Linked DNA regions of Homo sapiens: region 2 is linked to region 1. The links are contacts of gene promoters, found by promoter capture Hi-C in blood cells and fetal thymus (Javierre and others, 2016). All regions are on one chromosome and are shown on one strand. The core of a region is centred on a gene start or on the middle of the fragment in contact, and the rest is flanking DNA. Distances in the headings are between cores, read along the strand shown.

Region 1 (4,284 bases), core at 1,185-3,684:
GTAGGCTTTTTCTTTTTTTTTTTTTTTTCCAAACATTAAATAATTTCCTAGGATCACACAGCTTAAACGTGGCAAAGCCGGGGTTTGAACTTGATTCCACAGCGTCCACGCTGCTTACCACTTTGCTCTACTACCTTTTATTATCAGACGATCGTGTCTGGGCTTCAGATAAGGTGAATAGGGAGCTGGTGAGCTAGAATTGCTATTATCTACAGCAATTACCATCTATGGCACAGCAGCCTGCAGTCAGATACCTGAAGGTAAACAGACAACAAGAATGAAAAACAGCACCCAGTTGTGACATTTTATTTTCCTATAGAAACGTATTGGTTGTGGCTGTAACGTACTGTACAGAGTCTTGCCACAACGTCTACTGACAAAGCTTTCCAAGTCGTTTTTGGCAACCATGCACAATAATCAATGTATTCTGAAACCGTTGGCCTGAGTTGACCTTGGGAGAAATACGGAAGAGTGTGGTTAACTGTGGACATCAGTTATGAACTGGTGGCACTGGGCTCGCATGCTACGGTAAACAGCTGGAAGTTGATTCTGCAGGCAGTTTCAAGCCACTGGACATTTCTCTTAGTGATATAATGGTACCCTATGAAGATTAATCTGATTATGGTGTACAGAGTTGATGGAAGGCGGGTAGACTGAGGACTGAAGACCAACTAGGAGGAGGCTTTAATCATTCAGGCAGGAGAGCATAAAGTGTCCATAAAAATCATTCTTTTCCCCTAACTTTAAGTTGTAACCATTTCAGTGGGATTCAGCACCTATCAATGGTACCAGGCATTACGCCATGTGGTAAGCATTGGGGCTGCAGAGATGAAATGAGTGTGGAAAAAATTGCCCTGAAGAGGAACCTGAGGTTTTCACATGAAGTCTAAGGTGGCAGGAGGATTATGGGTCTTGGAGGCCTGGTAAGACACTGCAGTGAGTCTGTCTGAAGATGCCATCTCCATCAAGCCCTTCCTAGACCCAGTTCCTCATCACTGAGCATGGGAGCATCACAGATACGGGCAGTGCCTGTGGCAGAAACACTGTGGGTGGGGATCCGAGTGATCAGGATCACAGTGATGCTGGGGGAAGGTCGTCCTTCCCTGAATTTTATTCTTGGCCCTATACAACAGCCCAGCCAGATATTCCCTTATTTCAGTCATGAGCTGTCCCATGTTGTTTAAAAAGCATTAACTAATAACATTATTAAATCATCAATATTATTAACTATAGTAAATATAATAAGGCATGACATTATATTATACATCTGGATGGCTGTGGTTTTAGAACATAATTGTAAGAACTTCACCTGTGACATTGGCCTGATGATGGGTTATGATGCAGTCCTGTAGCTTAGACATGAATATTTCAGGTTCAGATCGTAGGTACTGGAACAGAGGTCTCTAGATTCTCTCCATCTTTCATTCTTCACTGCTTACTGTGGTGAACGCAGGTGCATGGAGACCCCCATATTGGATGTCAAGTCACTACCACTAAGGGGAATGAATTTTCCGAACCCAGATTAACTTTCTCAGGGAAGACTTTATTTCTTGGTTCCTCAAACTGTAGATAAAGGGATTCAACATTGGAGTTACCACTGTGTACATCACTGATGCAACTGTGTCCTTCTGGGCCGAGTGGGTTGAGGGAGAACTGAAATCAACACAAAAAGAAGTCCCAAAGAAGAGAGAGACCACGGAGAGATGAGAGCTGCAGGTGGAAAAGGCTTTCCGCTTCCCCTGAGCTGATGGGATCTTCAGGATGGTCGAGAAAACGTTCGTGTAAGAGATAATCAGGCAAAGCACACAAATGAGTCCTGTGAGACCCCCAGTGATGAAGATCACCAGCTCATTGGTGAAGGGGTCTGTGCAGGACAGACTCAGGAGGGGATTGATGTCACAGAAGAAGTGTGGGATCTCATGGTTTGCGCAGAAGGACAGGCTGTTCATCAGAAGTGTGTGTAGAAGGGAGTGGAGGGCATTCATGATCCAGGATGCAGACACGAGGAAGATGCAGAGCCCAGGGCTCATGATCAGAATGTAATGAAGTGGGTGGCATATGGCCACGTAGCAGTCATAGGCCATGACCGCCAAGAGGAATGCCTCCAGCATCACAAATAACATGAAAAAATACAACTGTAGTAGACACCCTGAGTAGGAGATGGCCTGACTCTGGATCTGTATGTTTGCCAGCATCTTAGGGACTGTGGTGGACACAAAGCAGGCATCTGCAAGGGAGAGGTTGGCTAGAAAGAAGTACATGGGGGTATGGAGTTGAGTGTCAGTAATGATGACTAGAATGATGAGGAGGTTGCCTGCCACCGTGACCAAGTACATGAACAGGAAGGACCCAAAGAGGGGCTTCTGCTCCTCCAGCTGCTCAGAGAACCCCAGGAGGAAACATTCTGAGATGCTGGTCAGATTTTTCCCCTCCATTTGTCTGTAGGAAGAAAGTTGGGTTAATTGGGTGACGTTGGTAAGCCCTGGATTGTGAACTCTGAAAATTATGCAATATTCCAGTGTTGATCTTCTAGTGTGAGGTTGGATCATAGGAAATCTCCACTATTTGACTCTTTGGGACCTGCAAAAATGGCCATTTCATAGGGTTCGACTAAATATTTGCAAATTCCTGTGCTTGGTGCTATGAGAAACCACAGATTTGTTTGTAATGCAATGAGAGGCTTTTAAATTTATTCCATAAGCATTAAGCCAATATGTGTATTTTGGGGCTGGGCTGGAGGGGCTTGCTGGCTTTGCTCTGGTAGTGTTCATGTAGAAACTATGACATTTATACAACCCAAGATTTTACAGGTCAAATGAGCCCATTGTACCAATAATTAAAAAGACAGCTCCTGGAAAGGGGTTTTGGAATTGGGAAAAGCATGGCTAACATGGAAATCATTATCACTGTTATCTACACAGCGGGTCTGGCCAGAAACCTGAGCGTCATTATTGACCCACGTTTCTCCCTCCCTGCCTACATCCAACCACCACCAAAGCCTGGCAATTTTACCTTCTCAATATGGCTACAATTTACTGACGTCTCTCTGTTTACTGGTCACCATCAGTCCCAGCTGCAGCTCATGTCATTCAGGGCACTGTGATTTCTCACTTGGATTTGGGCAGTTGATCTCCATGCCCCCAGGTATGCCCACCTGCCACCTGCTGTTCTAAATACACAGAGAATAGGCTTGCTAAAAATCAAATTCGACTCTTGTCTTTCTGCTTGAAAAATCCTTCATACACTCCTCATTACTCCCAGGATAAACTCTAAACTGAACACGGCTGAATGTCCTGGATCTTACCGTCATTTATTACAGACATCCCCAGTTCCTCATGAAACTCCCTCCTCCACTCCACACTTTATGCACTAATCATAGTTTCAATTATTTTAAAGGCCCAGATACTCCCTCACCTTTAGGCTTTCTCAGGCTGAAATAGTTTTTCCCATCCCATTTATCAGACGAGCTAAGCTTCAGGTCTCACCTTAGATGTCACCTCTTCTGGGAAGTCTTTCCCAACTCATCCTCTCACCAGAAACTCAGGTTCGTGACCTTCCTAATGCAGTGCCTCCCCCATCACAGCACGTGTCACCTTGGATTCTGAGTGTCTGTTTATATGAGTGTCCCTCATTCTGCTGTGAGCATCACTGGGAGTAGGCAGAGATGGTGCCTAATTGGCTCAGCTTTGAAATCTAGCATTAGCCTTGAGGCTGGTACAACACAGATGCTCAGTATGAATCTATCATGTAAATACATAAACCCCAGAGAATGGAAAGAGTGGGAAGAATGGAAAGGGGCTTTGCTATAGAGGTAATATCAGGCATAAGAATTAGCCTGAACCTTTATTATTATTGTTATGATTTTTGAGATGGAGTCTCACTCTGTCACCCAGGCTGGAGTGCAGTAGCACGAACTCAGCTCACTGCAGTCTCCACCTGCTGGGCTCAAGTGATTCCCTTGTCTCAGCCTCCTGAGTAGCTGGGATTACAGGCCACTGCTACCACACCTGGCTATTTTTTTTTTTTTTTTTTTTGTATTTTTAGTAGAGATGGGGTTTCATCACATTGGCCAGGCTGGACTTGAACTCCTGACCTCAGGTGACCCACCTGCCTCGGCCTCCCAAAGTGCTGGGATTACAGGCATGAGCCACCACACCCAGCCAACCTTTTTGTTAGTAGGTTCAGTGGTAGCTTTGAGTTAATGGAGTCCTGGCCATAGGAATATGTAGGGAAACACTACGGTTACAGAGAGATAAGTGTTCCAAACAAATGCATTCTTTCTAG
Region 2 (4,284 bases), core at 899-3,398, 37 kb before region 1:
ACCAGGCCCAGGGCGTGGTGACAGGCTGTCTGCCTTTAGATTTCATTTCTGCCTTTTAGTTTTTACTTCTTTCTTTGGAGGCAGAAATTGGGCATAAGACAATATGAGGGGTGGTCTCCACCCTTACTTTTTTTTTTTTTAATTTAAGTTGAACTTCACCTTTCTCGGGCACCTCCTTGATTAGCTTAATACTCAACTTTCTGAATTCTTTTTCTGGCAATTCAGAGATTTCTTCTTGGTTTGGATCCATTGCTGGTGAGCTAGTGTGATCTTTCAAGGGTGTTAAAGAACCTTGTTTTGTCATATTACCAGATTTGTTTTTCTGGTTCCTTCTCATTTGGGTAGACTATGTCAGAAGGAAGATCTGGGGCTCAAGGGCTACTTATCAGATTGTTTTTGTCCATGGGATCCCCCCTTGATATGGGGCTCTACCCCATCTCCTGGGGATGGGGCTTCCTGAGAGCCAAACTGCAATGATTGTTATTTCTCTGCTGGTCTAGCCATCCAACAGAGCTTCTGGGCTCTGAGCTGGTACTGGGGGGTGTCTGTGAAGAGTCCTGTGATGTGATCTGTCTTCAGTCCCTCAGGCATGGATACCAGTGCCTGGTCCAGTGGAGGTAGCAGTGGAGTAAAGTGAACTCTCATGGTCCAAGTGTTTATCTAGGAGTCTATGGTCCTTGGTTGAAGTTTTGTTTAGTGTACTAGTTGGCCTCCAGCCAAGAGGTGGTCCTTTCAAGAGTGCACCAGCTGTGGTAGCATAGGGGGGATACAAACTTGCCCTAAGGTGGCCTGGATAAGTATTCCAGTTTCTCAGGTGGTGAGTGGGACCATAGAGCTCCCAAGAGATTATGCCCTTTGTCTTCGGCTACCAGGGTGCGTAGAGAAAGACCATTAGGTTGGGGCAGGGTTAGGCATGTGTGAGCTCCGACTCTCCTTCGGTGGGGCTTGCTGTGGCCACTGTGAGGGATGGGGGTGTGGTTAACAGGCCAATGAAGTTATGTTCCCATGGGGATTATGGCTGCCTCTGCTGTGTCATACAGGTTGCCAGGGAAGTGGTGGAAAGCCAGCAGTGATAGGCCTCACCCAGCTCCCATGCTGTCCAAGTGGCCATGTCACTCCCAATGTGCCCTACCCCTAACAGTGCTGAGTTTATTTCCGGGTAGCTGGTGAGCAGGGCTGAAAACTTGTTCCAGGCTGCAAGTCTCCCTGTTGAGAAAGCAAGCAGCACTTTCAGGTTTCTGTTTTCCTGCCTGTGGTGGCTGCTGTGAATAGCCATTTTTAGAAAAATAAGTTTTCTGCCTCCTTTTCTTTCACTTTTCCTTCTGATACTTATGTAATGTGTGTATTTGTTTGATGGGTCCCATATGTCCCATAGGCTTTCTTCACTCTTTTTCCATTTGTTTCTCTTACTAGTACTTTCAAATGACCTGTTTTTGAGTAGTGAATTCTTTCTTCTGTTTCTTCATATCTGCTGCTGAAGCTCTTTTGAGTTTTTTAAAGTTTAGTCATTGTATTATTTAGCTCCAGAATTACTGTTTCTTTTTTGTGGTTTCTGTTTGTTGAAATTTACATTTTATTTATGTATTGATTTCCTGATTTTGTTTAGTAGTTTACCTGTGTTTTTGTGTGGGTCACCATGTTTCTTCAAATGATCACTTGAATTCTTTGTCAGGCAGTTCATATTTCTCCATTTCTTTGATGGTTTCTGAAGCTTTATTTTGTTCCTTTGGCTTTGCTAAGTTTCCTTGATTCCTTGTGTTTCCTGTAGCTTCACATTTGTGTTTGCACATTTGAAGAAGCAGTCATCTCTTTTAGTCTTTACAGGCTGGTTTTGATAGGGAAAGTCCAATTTGATAGGAACTGTTTTTCACCAGTCAGCTTAGCCAGATATTCTGGGCTGGCCAGTTGGCAGGGTCTATGGGCAGGCAGGCCTAGTGCTTGGGGATGTGGGTGGATGGGCCAGCTTCTGGGCACCATGCACAGGCCCACTGTAGGGTGCAAGGCCCCAGTTGTTAAAATACACATACTGACTATTAAGAGCTCCCAACCATTTTCTTATTTTTTTTTTTTCTTGTTCTTAGCTACTCAGAGGGGTCTGGCCATGTGAATTGCCTCAGTATTCTTGGTGAGGCATGACAGAAGTGGTCCTCTTGGTTAGCATCCTGAAAGTCAGGGGAAGTTGTACATATGTTTTATTTTCTTTTTTACTTATGGAAGAACTCATGAGATGAGGGGATCTCTCTTTGTGCTACTCTGTGCTGGCTTGGGTGAGGGGTGATTCAGGTAATGTGACAGAGTTTTTTCTACAATGTTCAATATGGTGTTTTTTCTACTTCTGTGTACTACCAGGGTGCTATAAACTTTCACTTGGATTCTGGAGCTCTCACAAAGGTATTTTCATCTGTGGATGGTTGATAAATTAGTCTGTATGTTGGTGGATGAGAGATACAACTGTCGATTCCACCATCTTGTTGACATCACTCCTTTCACCCGTTTTGAAATATCTTTTACCTGATGTCATTGCAGCAATATTTCACTTAAAATATTTAGTATTTTCCAAATATGTCTGTTTCTCTTTTTAATTTCAAGCTTTATATATTCCTGTGCTTTCATCGTGTCTCTTTAAATACATCTATCTATATTTTATTTTTTAATCAGTATGTTGAACATTACTTTTTAATTGATGAGTTAGGTCCATTTATGTTTAATGTAAATTTATGTACTTCCCCGAGTAGACTGTGACCTCACATTTGTAACCCAGTTTGAGGCCTCTGTACACTGTCATTATGAATAGAATGAGTTGATGAATGACTGCATGAATGTCAAATGAATTGAACACCACCTGTCGAGGTCTATATCACGTGCTGGATCAGCTGATACAAATATGTATGATTGCAATCTCTTTCAAACCTCCACAGCCATGTGACTAACTTTCTTATCAGCTACTATTTACTTTCTGTACTTTGGATGTGTGCTAGATGAGAGACACTTCTAGGTTTAAACTGGATATAGTCAGATAAGGCCAAGAATGTGGCCCTGTAGTCAAGTACATTGAAGAATTTGACCCTGCAACATTCTAGTGTTGGTGTTAGTGTGACCTTATTTACGGCCAAGGCTGATGAGACCTGGGGGACACCAGGTTACAAATATGTCTTTTTTATCACCACATATCTATATGCTGTCTCTGAGCTGGAGCCATGTCCCAATCACTGCTGTATAACACACAGGACAATCCCTTACATAGGGTGAAGGATATTCCTAGTCTCCACTTTAATGCTGTCTTTCCAAATTGCCCTCATGTCAGCCTCTTAAAGTGTTTATCTAGGAGTCTTCCCAGAGCCCCATGCATGTCCTTGTTCCTCAGGCTGTAGATGAAGGGATTCATCATGGGTGTCACCACAGCATACATCACTGTGGCTACTGAGTCCTTCACAGAGTAGGTATGGAGGGGCTTTAGGTATACCATACAAAGTGTCCCATAGAAGAGGGAGACTGCACCCAAATGGGAGGCACAGGTGGAGAAGGCTTTGTATTTCTTAGAGACTGAGGGTATTCTGAGGATGGCTCTGATAATCAGCACATAGGAAATGATCACGAATCCAAAGGGAATGAGGAAGATGAAGCAGCCTGTGGCAATCAGCACTGTGTGATTAATCTGAATGTTGGAACATGCCATCCTCAGCAATACATACATCTCACAGAAGATGTAGTGGATTTTTCGTGACCCACAGAAGGTCACTCTGGTCATGAGGAGGGTGTGTATGAGGCCATAGAGGACGGATAGGACCCAACACAAGGAAAGGAGTAAGATACAGAGCTTAGGGCTCATGGCTGTGGTGTAGTGGAGGGGGCAGCAGATGGCCACATAGCGGTCATATGCCATCACAGCCAGGATGAGGTTGTCCAGGGCCACCAAGGAGACCAGGAAGTAGAGCTGTGTCAGACACCCTGCATAGGAGATGGCTTTGTTATGGGACTGGAGGTTCACCAGCATCTTGGGGATTGTGTTGGTGACAAAGAAGAGGTCAGTGAAGGAGAGGTTGGCCAGGAAGAAGTACACGGGGGTGTGCAGGCGGGAATCAGAGCTGATGGCCAGGATGATGAGCACATTTCCCACCACCGTGACCAGGTACATGGACAGGAACATCCAAAACAGGATCCGCTGCTGCTCAGGACTCTCTGACATCCCCAGGAGAAGGAACTCTGAACCTTCACTCTGGTTGCCTCCATCCATTTCCCCAACTCTCTTTTAACATTAACACCAGCAAATGTTTACCAAAAGTC

Evidence for each region. Contacts are between HindIII fragments. The CHiCAGO score rates a contact against its expected background, and 5 or more counts as called.
Region 2: a fragment that was not itself captured here is called in contact with the fragment with the promoter of OR1G1 in region 1 in 1 of 17 cell types (endothelial precursors); the score reaches 5.3 in endothelial precursors.

What each region holds. Positions count from the first base shown.
Region 1 is chr17:3,125,117-3,129,400 of GRCh38, forward strand. It overlaps OR1G1 (olfactory receptor family 1 subfamily G member 1), which reads right to left and starts at 2,435. Exons shown (of 1, transcript NM_003555.1): 1 at 1,494-2,435. The coding sequence starts at 2,435. The coding sequence ends at 1,494. The HindIII fragment of the contact is 3,090 bases long and covers 381-3,470 here.
Region 2 is chr17:3,088,763-3,093,046 of GRCh38, forward strand. OR1D2 (olfactory receptor family 1 subfamily D member 2) reads right to left here. Exons shown (of 2, transcript NM_002548.3): 2 at 1-4,284. The coding sequence starts at 4,234. The coding sequence ends at 3,296. Among named protein-coding and RNA genes, the nearest start is that of OR1D2, 14 kb to the right of the region's middle. The HindIII fragment of the contact is 878 bases long and covers 1,710-2,587 here.